2 separate regions of the Homo sapiens genome follow, and region 2 is linked to region 1. The links are contacts of gene promoters, found by promoter capture Hi-C in human tissues and cell types (Jung and others, 2019). All regions are on one chromosome and are shown on one strand. The core of a region is centred on a gene start or on the middle of the fragment in contact, and the rest is flanking DNA. Distances in the headings are between cores, read along the strand shown.

Region 1 (4,977 bases), core at 1,008-3,507:
CAGTGATCTTGCAGGACTTCTTAATGCTATACTTAGGATCCCTGCCCAATGACTAGTTTTTTTTTTTAGATGGAGTCTCGCTCTGTCACCAGGCTGGAGTGCAGTGGCGCAATCTTGGCTCACTGTAACCTCTGCCTCTCGGGTTCAAGCGATTCTCCTGCCTCAGCCTCCTGAATAGCTGGGACTACAGGCGCCTGCCACCACGCCCAGCTAATTTTTGTATTTTTAGTAGAGATGGGGTTTCACCATGTTGGCCAGGATGGTCTCGATCTCTTGACCTCGTGATCCGCCTGCCTCGGCCTCCCAAAGTGCTGGGATTACAGGTGTGAGCCACCGCACCCGGCCCCCAATGACTAGATTTGAATCCATCTCTTGGGGCCTTATTTTGGGTTCCAGGTCCTGGGATGGGAGAAGCAATCCCCCAAAGCCAGAGGGTGGAGAGGGACAAAGCAGTGATTCCAATACATCTGGTCTCGGGTCATCCCAGCAGGCCAAGCTGTCCTCAGGTGGTATCTTTTCAAGCAACTGCAAACACTCAACTTCCTCCAGAGAGTGGGCAGGCAGGATATATAGGCAAATGCTGTTTTTCACCATGATGGGAAACGGTAGGATGATTCCTTATTTTAGAATCTGGGAGGGCTTTGGGATGGCTAGACTCATAGAAGGGGGCAAAAGAACTTGTCCTGGAGCTGTTTTTCTTTCTTTCTTTCTTTTTTCTTTTTTTTTTTTTTTGAGATGGAGTTTCGCCCTTTTGCCCAGGCTGGAGTGCAGTGGCTCCATCTCAGCTCACTGCAATCTCCACCTTCCGGTTTCAGGCGATTCTCCTGCCTCAGCCACCCAAGTAGCTGGGATTACAGGCCCCTGCCACCACGCCCGGCTAATCTTTGTTGGCCAGGCTGGTCCCGAACTCCTGACCTCGTGATCCTCCCACTTCAGCCTCCCAAAGTGCTGGGATTACAGGCGGGAGCCACTGCGCCCTGCCCTGGAGCTGTTTTTCTAACAAGCACTCAGAAGCACCTCCCTCCCCACCCTCCTCCAAGCCTGGACCCACCGTATGTCTTCCCGTTTGGTCTACAGAAAGGATTCTGGGAGATAGCAGGATTCTAGGTGGAGGAAACTTTTTATTTGGCTGACACTCTGAGGGGATGGGGGGACAGGGATGGGGAAAATTAATGAGCCAGACCAGGATGGATTCCTTTGGGTAGCTCTAATCTTTCGTGCCCACCTCAGCCCCAGCAGGCAGCATTTCTCAAATCCTAGCTTTCGGCGACCCTCCGGCCGCTGGGGGAAGGAGGGGTGACAACCCCACCTCCTCCTGGCTCTGGCTGCTAGGAAGCTCTTCCCTGAGTTACCAATTCCTCCGCTGGCCCCTTCTCCCATGACCTCTGACGGGGCATCCAAAACTCAGAGCCAGGTTATTTATAGATAAGCCCAGAGGAGGTGGGGGAAAGGCCAGTGTTTACAAACATGGGTCACCTGAGTCTGAGCGGCCACGAGAGCGGTCTGGGGGAGGGGCGAGACCGGACCCTGTGGATCTGCGACCAAGGGCTCTGTCTCTGGCCCAACCCCACTGAAGGCGAATGGGGAGAGGGCCCAGAGCAGGCAGGGAGTGGGCGCTGCTCAGATGCTGGAGCACGTGGCCCAGGGTGTGGGCCAAATGCAAACTGTATGCAAATCGCAGTGCTCCGGGGGCGACCTCTCGGCCGGCGGGACCCCCGCGGGGCCCCTGGCCTGGTGGGCCGGGGACCAGGGGCCGACCGGGTCAGGGCCCGCCTGAGGGAGAGGCCGAGTCTCACAAGTTTCCTCCCCATCACTCACAGCCAAAGAGGGTCCCGCAGAAAGACCCCGCAGGCCTTGAGAAAGGGAATTGCTCCTCAGTCCCTGCCCTGGCGCGCCCGCTCCCGGCCCCGCGTGCGGCGCTGGGAAAGGGGTGTCGGGTTACCAGCGCGGGGGCTACAGTTAGCCTCGAGAACCTTTGCTTTCAGCCGGACTCCGGACTCCTCCGGGGACAGCGCAGCGCCCGCCAGAGCCCTCGGCGCTCCCTCCCGCTGGCGGCTTCCGCAGCCTTCAAGTGGGTCCTCCGCCCCCGGCCCTCCCCTCTCAGGCGGAGCCAAACTGCGGCCCCGCCTTTACAGTCTCGGAAAGGTCCCCAGACTGGAGGCTCTGAGGAAGGGGTGTGGGGAGTCGGGGGCGGAGACTTGGGGCGGGGGGCGGGCAATAAACTCCCAGGCCCCGCCCACGCCCCGCCGGGGCCCTAATCCTGGACCCGGGATCCCGTGCGCCTGGAGACAGGGTCCAGATCTGCCTCCAGCCCCTCGAAACCAGGACTCCAGCACCTCTGGTCCCGCCCTCACCCGGACCCCTGGCCCTCACGTCTCCTCCAGGGATGGCGCTGGCGGCTTTGATGATCGCCCTCGGCAGCCTCGGCCTCCACACCTGGCAGGTAACTCCAGGAACCATCTCCTAGCCCCAAGGGGGACATTAAGGGACAGACCCTGAGGAAGTGGACCCGGGGCTGACTCCTCACATCCCTCTCCCAGGGACTCTTCCCTAGGATTCCACTCTTAACTCTCTTCCTCTCAGGAACCTCCATCTCTGCAGGGAGCCCCAAGTTCCCATTCTGTCTCCTAGAACCCCCATCTCCATCCCTCTCTGGATGCCTCCAACGTTCTCCTCCCCACCTCTCATCTCCCAGCGCAGGCACAGCCCGGCAAAGCCTCCTTGGGTTACCTGTGTGCTGCAGTCCTGGCAGCCCGTCCCAACCAAGGCTTGGCCTCCCCACCACCCCTACCCCAAATGTGGGTACAGAGCAGGGGAGGACTCAGGCGTCTCAGAGCTCACAGTGATTTGGTGTGGTGGCTGAGCACCTACCTGCAAGGGCTTCCTGCTGGATGAGAGGGAAAGAGAGCCCGAGGAGAATGGGGCTGGGGGTTAGGCAGCTGGACACTGGCTGTGTGTAATATTTGCACATCACCTGCCTGCCAGATCTTACAGCCGGAAAAGTGCTTGATAGTCATCTAGTCCCACCTCCCACCGACTGCAAGAACCTTTCTAATGACAGGATGACCCCTTTTAGGTTGTACAGAAGTAATGCTCTTTATGCTGTCTTCATAATAACTGTGAGGTTGGAAGTATCCTCAAGTCCAGAAAAGTTATGACACTTGCCCAAGGCCTCACAGCTAATAGGTGGTAAAGTCAAGATTTCAGCCTGCGCGCGGTGGCTCACTCCTGTAATCCCAGCACTTTGGGAGGCTGAGGCTGGTGGATCACTTGAGGTCAGGAGTTCGAGACCAGCCTGACCAACATGGTGAAACCCTGTCTCTACTAAAAATACAAAAAATTAGCTGGGCGTGGTATTGCGCACCTGTAATCCTAGCTACTTGGGAGGCTGAGAGAGGAGAATTGCTTGAACCCGGGAGGCAGAGGTTGCAGTGAGCCAAGATCGTGCCATTGTACTCCGGCCTGGGCAACAGAGCGAGACTTCGTCTCAAAGAAACAAACACAAAAACAAATTAGCCAGGCATGGTGGCATGCACAGGTAATCCCAGTTAGTTGGGAGGCTGAGGTGGGAGAATCACTCCAACCTGGGAGGTGGCGCTTGCAGTGAGCCGAGATCTCACCACTGCACTCCAGCCTGGGCAACAGAGCAAGACTCCATCAAAAAAAAAAAAAAAAAAAAAAGATTTCAGTCCATGTCTGACTGACTCCAGTGCCTGTGTTATTTAAGCCTCTTATTGGGCCCTTGCCAAATTGCATATACCTGATATTTAGGGATAGAAATGAGATTCTGTGTTTCTGGATGGGTTTGCCCCCAGGACCCATGTCCAGTGCTCTGAACTTATGCTCTTTTCGGTGTGGCACCTCTTTTGCTCCACAGGCCCAGGCTGTTCCCATCCTGCCCCTGGGCCTGGCTCCAGACACCTTTGACGATACCTATGTGGGTTGTGCAGAGGAGATGGAGGAGAAGGCAGCCCCCCTGCTAAAGGAGGAAATGGCCCACCATGCCCTGCTGCGGGAATCCTGGGAGGCAGCCCAGGAGACCTGGGAGGACAAGCGTCGAGGGCTTACCTTGCCCCCTGGCTTCAAAGCCCAGAATGGAATAGCCATTATGGTCTACACCAACTCATCGAACACCTTGTACTGGGAGTTGAATCAGGCCGTGCGGACGGGCGGAGGCTCCCGGGAGCTCTACATGAGGCACTTTCCCTTCAAGGCCCTGCATTTCTACCTGATCCGGGCCCTGCAGCTGCTGCGAGGCAGTGGGGGCTGCAGCAGGGGACCTGGGGAGGTGGTGTTCCGAGGTGTGGGCAGCCTTCGCTTTGAACCCAAGAGGCTGGGAGACTCTGTCCGCTTGGGCCAGTTTGCCTCCAGCTCCCTGGATAAGGCAGTGGCCCACAGATTTGGTAATGCCACCCTCTTCTCTCTAACAACTTGCTTTGGGGCCCCTATACAGGCCTTCTCTGTCTTTCCCAAGGAGCGCGAGGTGCTGATTCCCCCCCATGAAGTCTTTTTGGTTACCAGATTCTCTCAGGATGGAGCCCAGAGCTTGGTGACTCTCTGGAGCTATAATCAGACCTGTAGCCATTTTAACTGCGCCTATCTGGGTGGTAAGCTGTGCATGGGGGAAGCAGGACTGGCAGTGTGGGTGAAATAAGCCAGGATGTCCTTACACAATAATCCCCGGGGCCTTCGGGAGACCCACTTGGTTAAAGGGGAAATGAGGGCTGGAAGTCAGCTGGAGTTGCTGTCCTCTGTGACTCAGGTTTTTTGGGGTCCTATAAGTGTTTTCTAGATTCGTGAACATTCTTAGATGATTCTATATGTCCTCAAAAGGGTCCATCTGCTACATGGTCTAATAGACCAAAAGAACCTGGTTAAGGAGATTAGCAAGCAGCAGAAAGAGCCAAGGGGACTGCTTCAGGTCTCAGGGGGGCCCTGGGCTCGATGGGGCTGACAGGGCACGTATGTGCCATTCCC
Region 2 (4,977 bases), core at 1,085-3,584, 210 kb before region 1:
GTGAAACCTGGTCTCTACTAAAAATATAAAAATCAGCAGGGTGTGGTGGCACGTGCCTGTAATCCCAGCTACTCGGGAGGCTGAGGCAGGAGAATCGCTTGAACCCAGAAGGCAGAGGTTGCAGAGAGCCAAGATTGCACCACTGCATTCCAGCCTTGGTGACAGAGCGAGCCATCTCAAAAAAAAAAAAAAAAAAAACCTGGGGGGTGAGTATGGTACAATAAGATATTTTGACAGAGAGAGGAGAGAGAGAGACCACAATTGATCTATTTTATTATTAGTTATTTTTGTTCATCTCTTACTGTGTACAATTTATAAATTAAGCTTTATCATAGGTATGTGTATAGGAAAACAATATATATAGAGTTTGATACTATATGCAGTTTCACGCATCCACTGGGGTCTTGGAATACATTCTCCATGGATAAGAGGGGACTACTTTACTCATTTTAAAGATGAAGAAACTGAGGCTCAGGAGATAAAGTGGTAGGTGAGAGCCAAGCTTGCTTTCTTCTTTGGGATTCCCTCCCCATCCTTCAAGTCTCAGCTCAAATGAAATAAAAGCATCCATGCCCTGACCAGTGATGTTACCTTACCATAAATCAAGGGTTATGATTTTTAGCAAAACTCAAAAGCTCCACCCCACTTTAACACCTTGCCTGACTTGCCCTGTCTCTTCAGTCTTCTTCTATACCTTAGAGTACTTATGTAATTTGATTATGATTTTTTTTTTTTTTTTTGAGACAGGGTCTTTCTCTGTTACTCAGGCTGGAGTGCAGTAGTATGATCATGGCTTACTACAGCCTTAACCTCCTGGACTTAAGTGAGTTTTATTTTTTGAATAGGAATATTCTTTTTTATTTATTTATTTATTTATTTATTTTTAGAGACAGGTTCTCACTCTGTTGCCCAGGCTAAAGTGCAGTGGTGCAATTATAGTTCACTGCAGCATTGAATTCCTGGACTCGAGAGATCCTCCCACCTCAGTCTCCCGAGTAGCTGCGTCTACAGGCACATGCCACCATGCGCAGCTGAATTATGATTATTTAATAAGCGTATATCTTCTACATTAGCCTCTGAGCTCATCAAGGGCTGCATTTTATCCATCTTTATATTTTCACAGTCTAGGTTGCCCATTACATAGCTGGTACTCAATAAACGTTTCGCTAAGTGAATAAATGAATGATGTGTGTTCTGTACAGCAGCATAACTGTCCTTTCTTCACACCGCAGAGTTTCTGGTTACCAATAGCTTTCATTCAGAAAATGAGGGAGACTTTGCTAGAAATAATAATTGAGAGTCCAAAATCTGCTCAGAAAAATTTAGGAATCCCCTAGTTTGGGTTGCATTATTAGTAGCGCTCCCTGGTGTCCAAAAATGGAAAGTATAGCTATCGCTGAGAAATTGCCCAAGGTCTGGGTGGGTAGAGAGTGAGGAGAGACCTTAGCTTCTAGCAACAGCTTTTCCTAGGCTAGTTTCACACAGAGAATCATCTCCTCATTCAGAGTGAGTTCTAGAATCTTGCTTGCAATGTTCATTCATTCATTTAACACCTACTGAGCACCTATTTGTAACAACTTAGTTCCTACTCTCAAAGAGGTCCATTTTTACGGGGAAAAAAATGGGGTGAGTGTGTGTGTGTGTGTGTGTGTGTGTGTGTGTGTGTGTGTAGAGATAATTAGTACATGTCAATATGTCTCGAGAGGGATTGGTACAGGAATAGGTGAGGGAGCACAGAGGAAGGACAAGTAACAGTCTAAAGCAGTCAGGCTGTGCAGACTCACAGATTGGGGTGTGTGGGTGAGTAAGTGGGGTTCTAGGATCAGACTGCCTAGATTCACATCCAAGCAATGCTGTGTGACTCTGGGCCAGTTACTCAATCTCTCTGACCTCCGATTCCTCCATCTGAAAAAAGTAGGATCCTGTAAGGCTTAGATGAGTTCATAAGTGTAAAACAATTGGCACAGTGCTTCGCGTAGAGTAATGTGCTCAAAAATGTTGGCTCTTATTCTGCAAGGAATTTCAGAGCCGTTAAAGAATTACACCAAGATCAGGTAACTGTGATTTGCAGAAATTATTCTGGCAATAGTGCTGAGAAAGTATTGGAAAAGGTAGAAGCTGGAAACAAGTGACATGGTCTGACAGACCTGTACTGATAACCCAGCTCACCGCTGTGTGACCTTGGACAAGACCTGAAGTCTAATTTGGACAATAATGACGGGAATAGAAAAGTGTTCAGATTTGCGAAATATTTGGTGATTGATTAGATGACCAGGTGAGCAGGCAAGACAGATCAAGTTTAAATAATAGCTGTGGTTTTGGAAGATACTATTGTCTGCTAGATATTATGCTAAACGTGCTACATTCAATCATTCATTCAACCAATATTTACTGAGCAAAGTATTTTCATACCAGGCACTGTTCTAGGCACTAGGAATATAGCACTAAGTAAAACAAGCAAAACTTCTTGCCCTCCTGGAGCTTACATGTTATCTCATATAATGAATATCCATAGCAATCCTGAGGTGTAACACAATTTAGATTCATCTTACAAAGGAAATTAAAACTGACACGTTCAATTTTGCTATCTGTGAGGTTTTTTGTTTTGTTTTGTGTTGTTTTTGTTTTTGCTTTTGCTATTGACAGAGTCTTGCTCTATCACCCAGGCTGAAGTGAAATTGCATGATCTTGGCTCACTGCAACCTCCACCTCCCTGGTTCAAGTAATTCTCCTGCCTCAGCCTCCGAGTAGCTGGAATTACAGGTGCACACCACCATGCCCGGCTAATTTTTGTACTTTTTGTTTTAGTAGAAACAAGATTTCACCATACTGGTCAGGCTGATCTTGAACTCCTGACCTCAGGTGATCCACCCACCTCGGCCTCCCAAAATGCTGGGATTACAGGCGTGAGCCACCTCACCTGGCCTATCTGTGAGTATTCTTATCTGTAAAATTGAAATAATATTACCTGCCTTATAGACTTGTTATATTTATTGAGTTAATACGTGTAAAGCATATGTAAAACATATCTAAGTTGTTTTCCTAAATTATTATTCAGCAACTTCTCCAGGATCACACAGCAAGTAAATGGCAAAGATGAGAATTGGGGAAAATTTCCCCAGGGAATCCCGAATCAACTGGGCAGCTATAGTTGGGTTGCTCTTAGAATACCAGGACTGAGGAAGGAGAACTTTCCCAGAGGGGCATTATGCCAGATGATGTGGGTACTACCACTGGGCTTAGAAAATGTCAAAGATGCAAAGCTGTCCTGGAGGCTAACGGGACAACTATTGTTCTGCCTGCCTGGGAGAAGGGACCCTCTTGGAAAATAGGGCATGGCCATTGTCCACACACCCTTCATCCATTTAGTTCCTTGAGAGAGTCAAGAACAAAAGATTGGCCAGATGTGGTGGCTCACGCCTGTAATCCCAGCACTTTGGGAGGCTGAGGCAGGCAGATCACTTGAGGTCAAGAGTTCAAGACCAGCCTGGCCAACATGGTGAAACCCCATCTCTACTAAAAATACAAAAATTAGCCGTCGTGGTGGTGCTCGTCTGTAGTCCCAGCTACTCGGGAGGCTGAGGCAGGAGAATGGCTTGAACCTGGGAGGTGGAGGTTGCAGTGAGTCGAGACTGCGCCACTGCACTCCAGCCTAGGCGACAGAGCATGACTCCATCTCCAAAACAAAAGAAAAAAAATAAAAAAAGAAAAAAGATCAGAGGTTGTGACTCTAGAACTTTGTTTAATTTGTCACCTCTTTTTAGTTCTTTCTGCTGTCTCCTGTCTGGCCCATCAAAGCCCACAAAATGGGATATTGGACTTGTTTTGGGGGGCAGCAATAAAGAGGAGTAATGAAAAGGAGGCCAGTCACAGGGGCTCATGCCTGTAATCCCAGCACTTTGGGAGGCCGAAGCAGGTGGATCACTTGAGGTTAGGAGTTCAAGACCAGCCTTGCCAACATGGTGAAACCCCATCTCTACTAAAAATACAAAAAAGTAGCCAGGCGGGTGGCAGGCAACTGTAATCTCAGCTACTTAGGAGGTTGAGGTAGGAGGATCGTTGGAACCCGGGAGGTGGAGGCTGCAGTGAGCTGAGATCGTGCCATTGCACTCCAACCTGGGCTACAGGCCAAAATTCCATCTCAAAAAATAAAAAATAAAATAAAGGCCACGCACGGTGGCTCACGCCTGTAATCCCAGCACTTTGGGAGGCCCAGGTGGGCGGATCACCTGAGGTCGGGAGTTCGAGACCAGCCTGGCCAACATGGTGAAACCCTGTCTCTACTAAAAATAGAAAAAGTTAGCTGGGCGTGGTGGTGCATGCCTGTAATTCCAGCTAATCAGGAGGCTGAGGCAGGAGAATTGCTTGAATCTAGGAGGCAGAGGTTGCAGTGAGCAGAGATCGTGCCACAGCACTCCAGCCTGGGTGACTCTGTCTCAAAAAAAAAAAAGAAATAATGAAGAGGAAACTGTGTTCTACTCCTGAGGCTGGCTGAGAGAGGGAAGACCAAAGGATCAAGAGGAGCCCCAAGAAGGCTGAGTCCCCTGGAGCCACAGCAGAGGCAAAAGAGAATTCAGATTTAAGGGTAACCTAAAGGGGCTGGGACTGGGGCTAAGCCAAGACCCCTGTGGATCACTGGTGAGCTCCTGGAGCTGGAGTTCAGTGAGGAATAGGCTGGGAAGACCCCTTTGGAATCCTCAGGGCACTGGTGAGATCAGTTCAGGGCCTTTCTCCTCTCACTCTCTGTCCCCTCCTCTCTCAGGGAAACTAGTCAGCTTTAGCATTTTGACATTGAGAGAGAGGGAAGAATTAACCAAGGGCGGGGGGATACCTGAAAACATCAAGGGAGTGTGGAGAAATTAACTAATGTTTATTTGCTGTACCCTAGGGCAATTTACGAGGGCTCCACATGCATTATGTCGTTTAATACTCACAATCTCATGCAGCACTTGCCAGTCCCATTTTATTGTTTTTTAT

Evidence for each region. The method cuts DNA at HindIII sites, captures the fragments that hold promoters and counts their contacts. A contact is called where the count stands out against the background at its distance.
Region 2: a contact is called between a fragment that was not itself captured here and the fragment with the promoter of ART5 in region 1, in 1 of the 25 tissues and cell types used here (aorta).

The regions. Positions count from the first base shown.
Region 1 is chr11:3,639,272-3,644,248 of GRCh38, reverse strand. ART5 (ADP-ribosyltransferase 5) reads left to right here and starts at 2,257. Exons shown (of 4, transcript NM_053017.5): 1 at 2,257-2,443; 2 at 3,878-4,607. The coding sequence starts at 2,387. RefSeq lists a silencer at 1,648-1,697 and an enhancer at 1,837-2,550. The HindIII fragment of the contact is 5,679 bases long and covers 1-3,609 here.
Region 2 is chr11:3,845,814-3,850,790 of GRCh38, reverse strand. No RefSeq gene overlaps it. Among named protein-coding and RNA genes, the nearest start is that of STIM1-AS1, 7.3 kb to the left of the region's middle. The HindIII fragment of the contact is 4,728 bases long and covers 1-4,698 here.